Regions from separate parts of the Homo sapiens genome. Here regions 1, 3 and 4 are each linked to region 2. The links are contacts of gene promoters, found by promoter capture Hi-C in blood cells and fetal thymus (Javierre and others, 2016). All regions are on one chromosome and are shown on one strand. Each heading gives the region's core, a stretch centred on a gene start or on the middle of the fragment in contact. The rest is flanking DNA. Distances are from core to core; before and after follow the strand shown. Region 1 overlaps DENND4C (DENN domain containing 4C). Region 2 holds the start of RRAGA (Ras related GTP binding A). Region 3 overlaps DENND4C (DENN domain containing 4C). Region 4 has its middle 24 kb from the start of DENND4C.

What was found. Contacts are between HindIII fragments. The CHiCAGO score rates a contact against its expected background, and 5 or more counts as called.
Region 1: a fragment that was not itself captured here is called in contact with the fragment with the promoter of RRAGA in region 2 in 5 of 17 cell types (naive CD8 T cells, total CD8 T cells, erythroblasts and 2 more); the score reaches 8.9 in naive CD8 T cells.
Region 3: a fragment that was not itself captured here is called in contact with the fragment with the promoter of RRAGA in region 2 in 1 of 17 cell types (M0 macrophages); the score reaches 5.8 in M0 macrophages.
Region 4: a contact is called between a fragment that was not itself captured here and the fragment with the promoter of RRAGA in region 2, in 1 of 17 cell types (monocytes). The highest score is 6.0, in monocytes.

The regions. Positions count from the first base shown.
Region 1 is chr9:19,298,873-19,301,572 of GRCh38, forward strand. It overlaps DENND4C (DENN domain containing 4C), which reads left to right. Exons shown (of 33, transcript NM_001330640.2): 8 at 357-415; 9 at 1,315-1,459. Among named protein-coding and RNA genes, the nearest start is that of DENND4C, 70 kb to the left of the region's middle. The HindIII fragment of the contact is 2,600 bases long and covers 56-2,655 here.
Region 2 is chr9:19,048,135-19,050,834 of GRCh38, forward strand. It overlaps RRAGA (Ras related GTP binding A), which reads left to right and starts at 1,293. Exons shown (of 1, transcript NM_006570.5): 1 at 1,293-2,700. The coding sequence starts at 1,526. The coding sequence ends at 2,467. It also overlaps a transcript of SAXO1 not described here. RefSeq lists an enhancer at 1,233-1,754 and a silencer at 1,362-1,551. The HindIII fragment of the contact is 15,757 bases long and covers 1-2,700 here.
Region 3 is chr9:19,276,876-19,279,575 of GRCh38, forward strand. The region is part of intron 2 of DENND4C (DENN domain containing 4C); the gene reads left to right. Among named protein-coding and RNA genes, the nearest start is that of DENND4C, 48 kb to the left of the region's middle. The HindIII fragment of the contact is 1,132 bases long and covers 874-2,005 here.
Region 4 is chr9:19,205,378-19,208,077 of GRCh38, forward strand. No RefSeq gene overlaps it. Among named protein-coding and RNA genes, the nearest start is that of DENND4C, 24 kb to the right of the region's middle. The HindIII fragment of the contact is 5,053 bases long and covers 1-2,700 here.

The DNA of each region.
Region 1 (2,700 bases), core at 106-2,605, 250 kb after region 2:
TTTACGTGCCAAGCAACTGCCAAGTGCCTACAGTCTGTTGAGTAAATGAATTTGAAGCTTTTCAGAAGCAGTAGTTCCATAAATTTTAAATAATTGTACTTTAACCAATTAAGTGAATCAAAATTCAGTCAAATTAACCATTTAATGAAAAAGAACTAATGTAACACTTCTGAGTAAATACAGCTATCATTTTATATTTTAGTACCTGTTTCCAAAAGTGTGTTTGCATATTAAATTATTAATGTTTTCAATATTACCTTTGATCTAAATATATAGATTTCAAAAGTAGTTTTGAAACTTATCTCTTGGTTTGGTTAATTTATCTTTGGTTAATTTATCTTTTTTTTTTTTTTAAGCTGTCAGTCCATGATGCATTAATATTATCACAGCCAGTTTCTACACCTTTACCACTAAGGTAATTACTGGTATTTAAAATGATATATTTATTCAGTTGGAGCAGAATGCTTTAAAATATTTTAGTGATTAGTATATTATTAATATATTAGTGATTGTTATTTTACAATTAACTTTATTAGTTAAAACTAGGCAAAAATAGCCTTAATGTTTCTGACTTTGGTAACTGGGTGGATGGTGGGGCTATTTTATAAATGGGAACAATTAAGAGAGTTGCAAGATTGGATGTAGAGGATACTTCCCTTTTCTTCTCATCTCCCCTTCCCATATCCAGTTCATAACTAAAGGTTTAAGGTGAGCTGATTTTAACCTTTTAAATGTCTCAAATCCTTTTACTTCTTTTCATCTGCATCATAGTAGGCTTCCTTGATGTCTTACCAGACTATTTCACTATTAGCCTCTTAATTGGTACCTTTTTACTTATCTTCCTTTAGTTCTTTATCCACCCTGTAGCCAGTGTGTCCTTTTGAAAACGCAAATATAATAGTATATTTCAATTTCAGCCTAATCTGTTGCTGTTTTCACCCTTTCCCTTACTATGCTTTAGTCACAATAGATTTATTTCAATTTCTTGGCTATGACAACAGCTTTTTCTTGCCCCAGGGCCCTTGCATATATTGTCTGTCACCCCTTCACTCCCATCCTTGTCTCCATTCTTCTGAGCTCAACTCAAATGGCTGTTCAGGAAAATCTTTCTTGATAAATGCCTTTTATTACCAGAGGATGAGTTTAAATCACCCCGTTATCTATCTTATTAAATTTGCTACTTTTCATTGATAAATAAGTAAAGACTAGAAATTAACACTAGACTCTCAATCTGTTGATACTTTAATAAGCAAATCTTAACATATTTCAGCAAAATAGTTCACAATGATCTACTTTTCTCTTTTTTTTCCCTAGTGGAGCCAACTTTAGCACCTTGCTAATGAATCTGGGTCCTGAGAATTGTGCAACACTGCTGCTCTTTGTTTTACTTGAGAGTAAAATTCTGCTGCATTCTCTTAGGCCAGCTGTCTTGACTGGGGTAGCTGAAGCTGTTGTAGCTGTAAGTATAGAATTTTCCTTTTAGTACAAAATTACTGACATAATTTTTACTCCAAAGGGAAATTTTCTTCAAAAACAGCAACTTTGTAAACAACAACAAATTTAAAAAAAGGAACTTTGAAAAATTTCCAGCCCAGTAAAAGTTGAATATAATCTGCTGGCAAAGAGAAGTAGGAAATATAAAGAAAACAAAGGTGATTTCTATTTTAGGAAAAACGTCAATTTCCAATTTTTCATATTTTTGAGTTCTTCCCAGAGTAAAAACTATATGATTATATAATAAAACCTGAGAATGAAGCTGGTTGTATTGAGAGGCTCTGGCCAATTTCAGCTGTTCTAAAATTATGCAAATGATTACATGGTTAATTTCTCCCTATTTTAACTTTTAATAATTGTGAATCAGTAATATACAGGAAATTCTAAGTGATTGTGAAATAGGATAATATACAGAGGCTTAGCTCTTGTGTAAAGCGTAAATAAAATTAAATTGTTAAATTGTTAAGAAATTAAAGTTGTTCCCTGCTTAAAACCCTTTGGCTTCCCATTGCACTTAGAATGAAGTCTGATTGACAGGCATGGTGGCTTACACCTGTAATCCCAGCAATTTGGGAGGCTGAGGTAGGCGGATCACCTGAGGTCAGGAGTTCGAGACCAGCCTGACCAATATGGAGAAACCCTGCTCTACTAAAAACACAAAGTTAGCCGGGTGTGGTGGCACATGCCTATAATCCCAGCTACTCAGGAGGCTGAGGCAGGAGAATTGCTTGAACCCAGGAGGCGGAGGTTATGGTGAGCTGAGATCACACCATTGCACTCCAGCCTGGGCAACTAGAGTGAAACTCCGTCTCAAAAAAAAAAAAAAGACTGAAGAATGAAGTCTGATTGTATAGGGCTTTATAGGCCATTGTATAGAACTTTAGATGGTCCACTTCTCCAACCCTATCACCCATTAGTTGTTTAATTTAAAATAGCTGACTCTCTTCTCTTCCCTTCCCCATTTTAAGAATGTAAGTCTCCTGGGAGTAAGGACCTAATCTCTTGTTTACTCCTGTATTTTCAGCACTTGTTACAGTTGCCTAGCACAGAGTAGGCCCTCAGTAAATACTTGTTAAAACAACAAATGGGGTATGTCTCCAAGATCTTAATCTGGTTGAAGAAGTGCTGTTAGGACTGAAAACAATAGTAACCATATGAGAAAGCTTCCAGGAGGATCCTCATTAAGTATTACTTTTCCAAGTCATC
Region 2 (2,700 bases), core at 43-2,542:
GGAATACCTGAATTTGTACAGTACAGTATACACTTTGATAAGGGCTTTAGGCCAGGCACGGTGGCTCACGCCTGTAATCCCACACTTTAGGAGGCCGAGGCAGGTGGCTGGCTTGAGTTCCAGACCAGCCTGGCCAACATAGTGAAACCCCGTCTCCACTAAAAATACAAAAATTAGCCGGGCGTGGTGGCAGGTGCCCACAATCCCAGCTATTTGGGGGACTGAGGCAGGAGAATCGCTTGAACTCAGGAGGCGTAGGTTGCAGTGAGCTGAGATCGCGCCACTGCACTCCAGCCTGGGCAACAGAGTGAGACTCCGTCTCAAAAGAAAAAAAAAGGACTTTAAGGTAGATACAGAGGCTTCAGTATCCTGATGACTCTCATTCATTCTGTATGAACGATACTGGCGACACTGATTCACTCATCTACTTGAAGACCAAGAGCAGAATCATATTATGCTTTGAGAGGGGCACAGGGTAGCCTATTGTTAGGCAAATAGACCGCAGCAAGATTGTCTAAAACCAAATTCCATTTCATCATTTAGTATCTGTGTAACTTGGTCAAGTGACTTAACCTCTCTAACCTTTGATTCCCTAACTTGAAAATAGGGTTATTAATTCACAGGGTTACTGTGAGGATGGAACTAATGCCTGGGATTCCACATTATCATTTCCTCGAGCTTTGGAATTCTAATTATAAATTCTAAAGTCTGAGATTACGGAAAAGCAGATGTGAGAAAGGAATTAAAAGCACCCACTGGAAGCCAGGATGTCTCCTAGGAGGGACTTGCTATTACCTAGCTGCGCAGCAACAGGCAATCGCTTGCCTACAAGTCTCACTTTCCGCGCCTGCACAGTCTCCATCTGCCCTGCCCTTGTACTCACTGGGCCGGGCAAGCTGGGGAGGCCTAAGCGGACTGGGAAGTTAGGCTTTCCCTCCACTTCACCAGTCGGCTGCCCCTGCGGAAACCGGCCCGACACACCTCGCTCCTAAAGCCAGTTGCGGTGGTGGTGGCGGTTGGGGCTTTTTTTGGCCACGAGAGGGCAGCATTTCCCCCGGCCAACCACACACGTACCCCTAGCAACAGCAAACCCAGCTGCAACAGAACAAAAGACCGAAGTCCTCGAGCTTCCCTTCCATCTTAGGGCTCACGCCGCCCCGGTTAGGTTTCATTAGAGCAGCGGCTTTTCAAGGCTCGTCGGGCACGGAGGGCGGAGCGAGGGAGCTCTCGCGAGATCGCCGCCGGAAGTGGGTGGTGGCGGGGACGCAGCGGCTCCCTCCCGGAAAGCGAGCGTATCTCCCGAGCCGTTGCCACTGACAGCCGCGGGCGCTCCCATCTGAGTAAGAGCCAGCCCGTCCGCGGCCTCTCCAGCCCCGGGTTCGCGCTCTCGACTCTCCTGCCTGCCCAGCTGCGCGGCGGAGCGGAGCGAGGCGCGGCCTGCGAGTCCCCGGCAGCCCCCGACCCCTCCCTCGGCGCTGCGTGTAGGCCGCGCCCTCAGGCCCAGTCCGCGGTGCCCCGGCGGGTGATGCCAAATACAGCCATGAAGAAAAAGGTGCTGCTGATGGGGAAGAGCGGGTCGGGGAAGACCAGCATGAGGTCGATAATCTTCGCCAATTACATTGCTCGCGACACCCGGCGCCTGGGGGCCACCATTGACGTGGAACACTCCCACGTCCGATTCCTAGGGAACCTGGTGCTGAACCTGTGGGACTGTGGCGGTCAGGACACCTTCATGGAAAATTACTTCACCAGCCAGCGAGACAATATCTTCCGTAACGTGGAAGTTTTGATTTACGTGTTTGACGTGGAGAGCCGCGAACTGGAAAAGGACATGCATTATTACCAGTCGTGTCTGGAGGCCATCCTCCAGAACTCTCCTGACGCCAAAATCTTCTGCCTGGTGCACAAAATGGATCTGGTTCAGGAGGATCAGCGTGACCTGATTTTTAAAGAGCGAGAGGAAGACCTGAGGCGTCTGTCTCGCCCGCTGGAGTGTGCTTGTTTTCGAACGTCCATCTGGGATGAGACGCTCTACAAAGCCTGGTCCAGCATCGTCTACCAGCTGATTCCCAACGTTCAGCAGCTGGAGATGAACCTCAGGAATTTTGCCCAAATCATTGAGGCCGATGAAGTTCTGCTGTTCGAAAGAGCTACATTCTTGGTTATTTCCCACTACCAGTGCAAAGAGCAGCGCGACGTCCACCGGTTTGAGAAGATCAGCAACATCATCAAACAGTTCAAGCTGAGCTGCAGTAAATTGGCCGCTTCCTTCCAGAGCATGGAAGTTAGGAATTCCAACTTCGCTGCTTTCATCGACATCTTCACCTCAAATACGTACGTGATGGTGGTCATGTCAGATCCGTCGATCCCTTCTGCGGCCACTCTGATCAACATTCGCAATGCCCGGAAACACTTTGAGAAGCTGGAGAGAGTGGATGGCCCCAAGCACAGTCTCCTTATGCGTTGAATATTGCCAAATGCTCTTTCTGAAAATGCTGAATTGCCTTTTTTGTTTGCATCCTTTATTTTTAATATTCATAATGTCGTGTGCTTAAAAGTGGGCTTTGAAGTGTGTGCTGCTTACTCCTTTCATCTTTCTCCCCGCTTCCCCAGTCTTTAAACATTGGACGCTATTTACTCAGCTACCCAGTAGAGCTTGAAGCTGACCTTTCTGAGAAGTTGGTATGGTGTAACACTAAA
Region 3 (2,700 bases), core at 190-2,689, 230 kb after region 2:
GTTTAACTAAAGAGCAGTCCTATTTTAAATACAGTTGTAACGTGTGGCTTTCAATGCTGGGAGGAGGGTGTTTACAGATAAGTGCTACAGTTTTCATGAAGTATCTAGTATCTAGTCTACCAGTGAAGGACATTCTTTTTTGTAAATGCCTACAAAGGTCCACCCTTTCCCCAAATGGCTACCTTGACTCTTCTGTAAAAAGGATGTGCTTTTAGAATACCTATAACACTTTACCATATATACATGTGATGTATTGGGGTGTTTTGTTTATTATCATTACCATTACTAAAATATAGATATTTGGGAACATCCTGGCAAGTATTTTAGGATCAGCTTATCTATTTATACAAAATGTGTAGTAGGAATTTTGATAGAGATTACATTAACTTTAGATTAATCTGCAGAGTATTGTCATCTTTACAATATTAAACGATTCAGCTTGTGAACGTGGAATGTTTTCCATTGGTTTAGGTCTTCTTTAATTTCTTTCAGCAACATTGTGTATTTTTTAAATCTGATTAATTTTATTTCTAGGTATTTTATTCTTTTGGATTCTATTATAAATAGTGTTGTTTTCTTAATTTTTGGATTGTTTGTTGCTGGTGTATAGAAATAGCTGATTTTTGTGTGCTAATCTTGCACTCTGCAACTTTGCCGAATTTATTAGTTCTAATAACTTGTGGGTTCTTCGGGATTTTTTTAAATATATAGGATCATGTCATCTGCAAATAGAAATAGTTTTACTCCTTCCTTTGCAGTTTGGATGCTTTGTGTGTGTGTGTGTGTGTGTAATTACTCTGGCTAGAACTTTTAGTATGTTGAATAGCAGTGGTGAAAGCAGGCATCTTGTCTCATTCCTGATTTTAGGTGGAAAGCTTTCAGTCTTTTACTATTGAGTATGATGTTAACTGTAAATATTCCTTAAATACCATTTATCATGTTGAGGAAATGTTCTTCTATTCCTAGTTTTCTGAGAGATTTTATCAGGAAAGTGTGTTAAATTTTGTCAGATGCCTTTTGTCAATTGAGATGATCATGTATTTTTTCTTCCTTTGTTCTCTTAGTGTCATGTATTACATTGATTTTCTTTTGTTGAATCTTTCTTTTAATATAACTATGATACCATACCTTAAAAAATGATTAATTCCTTAATATTATCACATATCCAAATTTTTCTAATTCATGAAGCCTTTTTTTTCTTTTTTTTTTTTTTTTGAACACTTGGTTGCTGGTTGTTCTCTTTTTGTTGTTGTGGTTGTTTTTTGTTTGTTTGTTTTTGAGACAGAGTCTGGCTTCGTTGCCCAGGCTGGAGTGCAGTGGCGCAATCTTGGCTCACTGCAACCTCCGCCTCCCGGGTTCAAGTGATTCTCCTGCCTCAGCCTCTTGAGTAGCTAGGATTACAGGCGTGCACCACTATGCCTGGCTAATTTTTGTATTTTTAGTAGCAGAGACAGGGTTTCACCATATTGGCAAAGCTGGTCTTGAACTCCTGACCTTAGGGGATCTGCCTCCCAAAGTGCTGGGGTTACAAGCGTGAGTTACCACACCTGGCCACTGATTGTTCTCTTTATAGTTGTTCAGGTATTAAGGGGTAGCCATTTGACCACCACTTGTTACGCTCATCACCCACTCTTGTTGCATTAGAGCTCTGGCGAAATTGTTATAAAGATCCTCATACTCCATGGAAGTCGGAATCCACGAAGGAGTGTGTAACAACTCAGGCTGAAAAAGAGAAAAAAGTTTAAAAAGTCCTCATTTTCAAATTTTTAAAACCAAAGGATGATTTGTCTTTATCTTACTTGACCTTTATGCAGCATTCGTTTAACTCCTTTAGTATTGTCCATCCTATTTAGCTACTGTAGTTTTCCTTCAAGTCAGTATAGTTAGGATGGTGATCTTTCAGCTTTATAGGGTCATTGAGCATATGAGCCAGGTTAGAAAGACAGGGTTCAGAAATGACTGGGAATTGGATTAATAAAGGCCCCCTCCACTCTGCCCCCCCAGAAGCTTGACTTTAAGGGAAGGGGAAGATAGTTAAGGGCCTAACTATTCAAATTGTAGCCCATGGACCAGTATTGTCCAAAAGACCTGGAAGCTTGTTAGAAACTCAGAAACTTAGGCACTATTCCAGACCTACTGAATCACAATCTGTATTCTGGTCCAGTGTGGTGGCTTACACTGTAATCCCAGCTAACCTGTAATCCCAGCACTTTGGGAGGCCGAGGCAAGCGGATCACAAGGTCAAGGGATCAAGACCATCCTGGCCAACATGATGAAACCCCATCTCTACTAAAAATACAAAAATTAGCTGGGTGTGGCAGTGTGCGCCTGTAGTCCCAGCTACTCAGGAGGCTGAGGCAGGAGAATCACTTGAACCCGGGAGGCGGAGGTTGCAGTGAACCAAGATCACACCACTGCACTCCAGCCTCCCTAATCCCAACGCTTTGGGAGGCTGAGGTGGGAGGAGGATTGCTTGAGGCCAGGAGTTCACAAAAAATAAAAATAAAAATGAGCAAGGGCCCGGTGTGGTGGTTCACGCCTGTAATCCCAGCACTTTGGGAGGCGGAGGCAAGCCGATCACTTGTGGTCAGGAGTTCAAGACCAGCCTGTCCAACATGGTGAAACCCCCTCTTTACTAAAAAAATACAAAAATTAGTTGGGCATGGTGGCGAGCACCTGTAGTTCCTGCTACTTGGGAGG
Region 4 (2,700 bases), core at 156-2,655, 160 kb after region 2:
GAGGTCAGGAGATCGAGGCCATCCTGGCCAACATGGTGAAACCCCGTCTCTACTAAAATACAAAAAAAAAATTAGCCGGGCATGGTGGCATGCACCTTTAATCCCAGCTACTTGGGAGGCTGAGGCAGGGGAATCGCTTGAACCCAGGAGGTGGAGACTGCAGTGAGCCGAGATCACGCCATTGCACTCCAGCCTGGCAACAGAGCAAGACTCCATCTCAAAAAAAAAAAAAAAAACAATAATAATAATAATAATAATAAAAGACCATCCCAGAAAACAAAGTGAGGTCCTGTTTCTACAAAAAAATTTTTAAAAAATCAGCTGATTATGGTGGCACATGCCTGTAGTCCCAGCTACTTGGGAGGCTGAGGTAAGAGGATTGCTTGAGCGAGCAGTTGGAGGCTGCAGTGAGCTATGATTGCACCACTGCACTCTAGCGTAGGCAACAGAGTGAGATCCTTCTGGAAAAAAAGAAAAACAACTGCACATTATTGGCATGGCGGTATGCTAGGACCACACTAGGCTGTAAACTCCGTGAGGGCAGGAACCATGCCTGGTTTGTTCAACACAATATCCCCAGCATGAATTTGGCATGCACCTAACATATGGCTCAGGAAATATCTGAAATGAAATATCTGAATATTTGAATGAAAGACAAGTTGAAGTGAATGAAAGGCAAGTTGATTCTCCATGAACATATCATTTTCAGGTATGTTCTCCACGGACATACCTGAAAATGGAATAGACATTAGCTGCACTTAGATGAAACTACTCTGCTTTAATCCCTGGATTTTCATGAAATCAAGGATGAATTTACCTGACATTGAAAAGGACCATGAATCTTGTGTGAGTTGATATCGTATGATGTTTATCATCATAACTTAATTGTTTTACATTGAATTTTAATATTTATTTTTTAATTTTAATTTAATTTTATTTATTTTGAGATGGAGTCTCGCTCTGTCGCCCAGGCTGGAGTGCAGTGGCTCGATCTCGGCTCACTGCAACCTCCGCCTCCTGGGTTCACGCCATTCTCCTGCCTCAGCCTCCCGAGTAGCTGGGACTACAGGCGCCTGCCACCACACCTGGCTAATTTTTTATATTTTTAGTAGAGATGTGGTTTCACCATATTAGCCAGGATGGTCTCGATCTCCTGACCTTGTGATCTGCCCGCCTTGGCCTCCCAAAATGCTGGGATTACAGGCGTAGGCCACCGCGCCTGGCCTTTTAATTTTTATTTTTTTGAGACAGTTTCAGAAAAGAAGTTTCACTCTGTCACCCAGGCTGGAGTGCAGTGGGGCAATCTCAGCTCACTCCAACCTCTGCCTCCCGGGTTCAAGTGATTCTTCTGCCTTAACCTCCCAAGTAGTTGGGATTACAGGCATGCACCAAAAAACCCAGCTAATTTTTGTATTTTAGTAGAGACATGGTTTCACGATGTTGGCCAGGTATGGTTATTATTATTTTTTTTTAGGGACAGATTATCACTATGCTGCCCAGGCTGGCCTTGAACTCCTGGGCTCAAGCAATCCTCCTGCCTTAGTCTTGCAAAGTTCTTAGGGTTACAGGTGTTAGCCACTATGCCCAGCCTAGTTCAATAATTTCAACTTTACCATAATATGAGGAAAACTTGAGCGTAATATTGGTCTGTCTTATCTGTTCCAGTTTCTCAAATACTTTTTATTTTTACAGAAAGGGTCTTGCTCTGTCACCTAAGCTGGAGTGCAGTGGCATGATCATAGCTCACTGTGGCCTCAAACTCCTGAGCTCAAGCCACACTCTTGCCTCAGCCTGCAAAGAGCTGGGATTACAAGTGTGAGCCACTGTGCCCGGCATAGTTTCTGAAATGCTTTTAGAAATGCTACTTATAGCAGCATTAGCTGTAAAAAAGGCCCTGTATGTGAGTCCTGCCATGGGAGGCTTGGGCAAATACTGGGGAAACAGGAAGTTTATCTTTGGCCCTTTCAGGATTAAAAAAAAGAAAAATTTGAGTGTAATATTTGATACATACAAAAGAATGTGTTGTTAAATATAATAGAATAAACACTCTGCTTAAGAACAAGAACATTATCAATATGAGGATTTACTTCCTTTTGGGATCTTATGCGAATTTCTGAAAAGGTCTGGGTTCTAGCTGCCTAGCATTAACATAAAAGGTTTGAGAAATATACATTCAATAAGCTGCTATCTGATAATGGCTTTAGATTTTTCTCATCTTTGAGTGTATAATTTTTTTTTAGTTTTATTTTGTAGAGGCAGAGTCGTGCTATGTTGCCCAGGCTTGTATCAAACTCCTGGCCTTAAGCAATCAGCCTCCTAAAGTGTTGGGATTACAGGTGTGAGCCACCACACCTGGCCTCATAAAAATTGCTATAGCATTTTTTTTCTGATAATAGAAGTGTATATCTTTCCTGTAGAAAAATTTTAAAATAGGTTAAAGTATGAAGAATATAAAAATAACCATTATATCCATTCTCTCCAGAAAATTATTGTTAACCTTTTAAAACACACACACACACACACACACACACACACACACACACACACACACACGAATACATTTTAATAGCTAGCTTGAGTTCCTTTCAAGACAAAAAGATATGAATATTTCTTGTGGAATTTCAGGCACTGTTGCAAGCTGGCGGGAAATCTATCTGGGGTAAAAATCTTCTCAAATTGTAGCAAAGTATTTGCATTTCC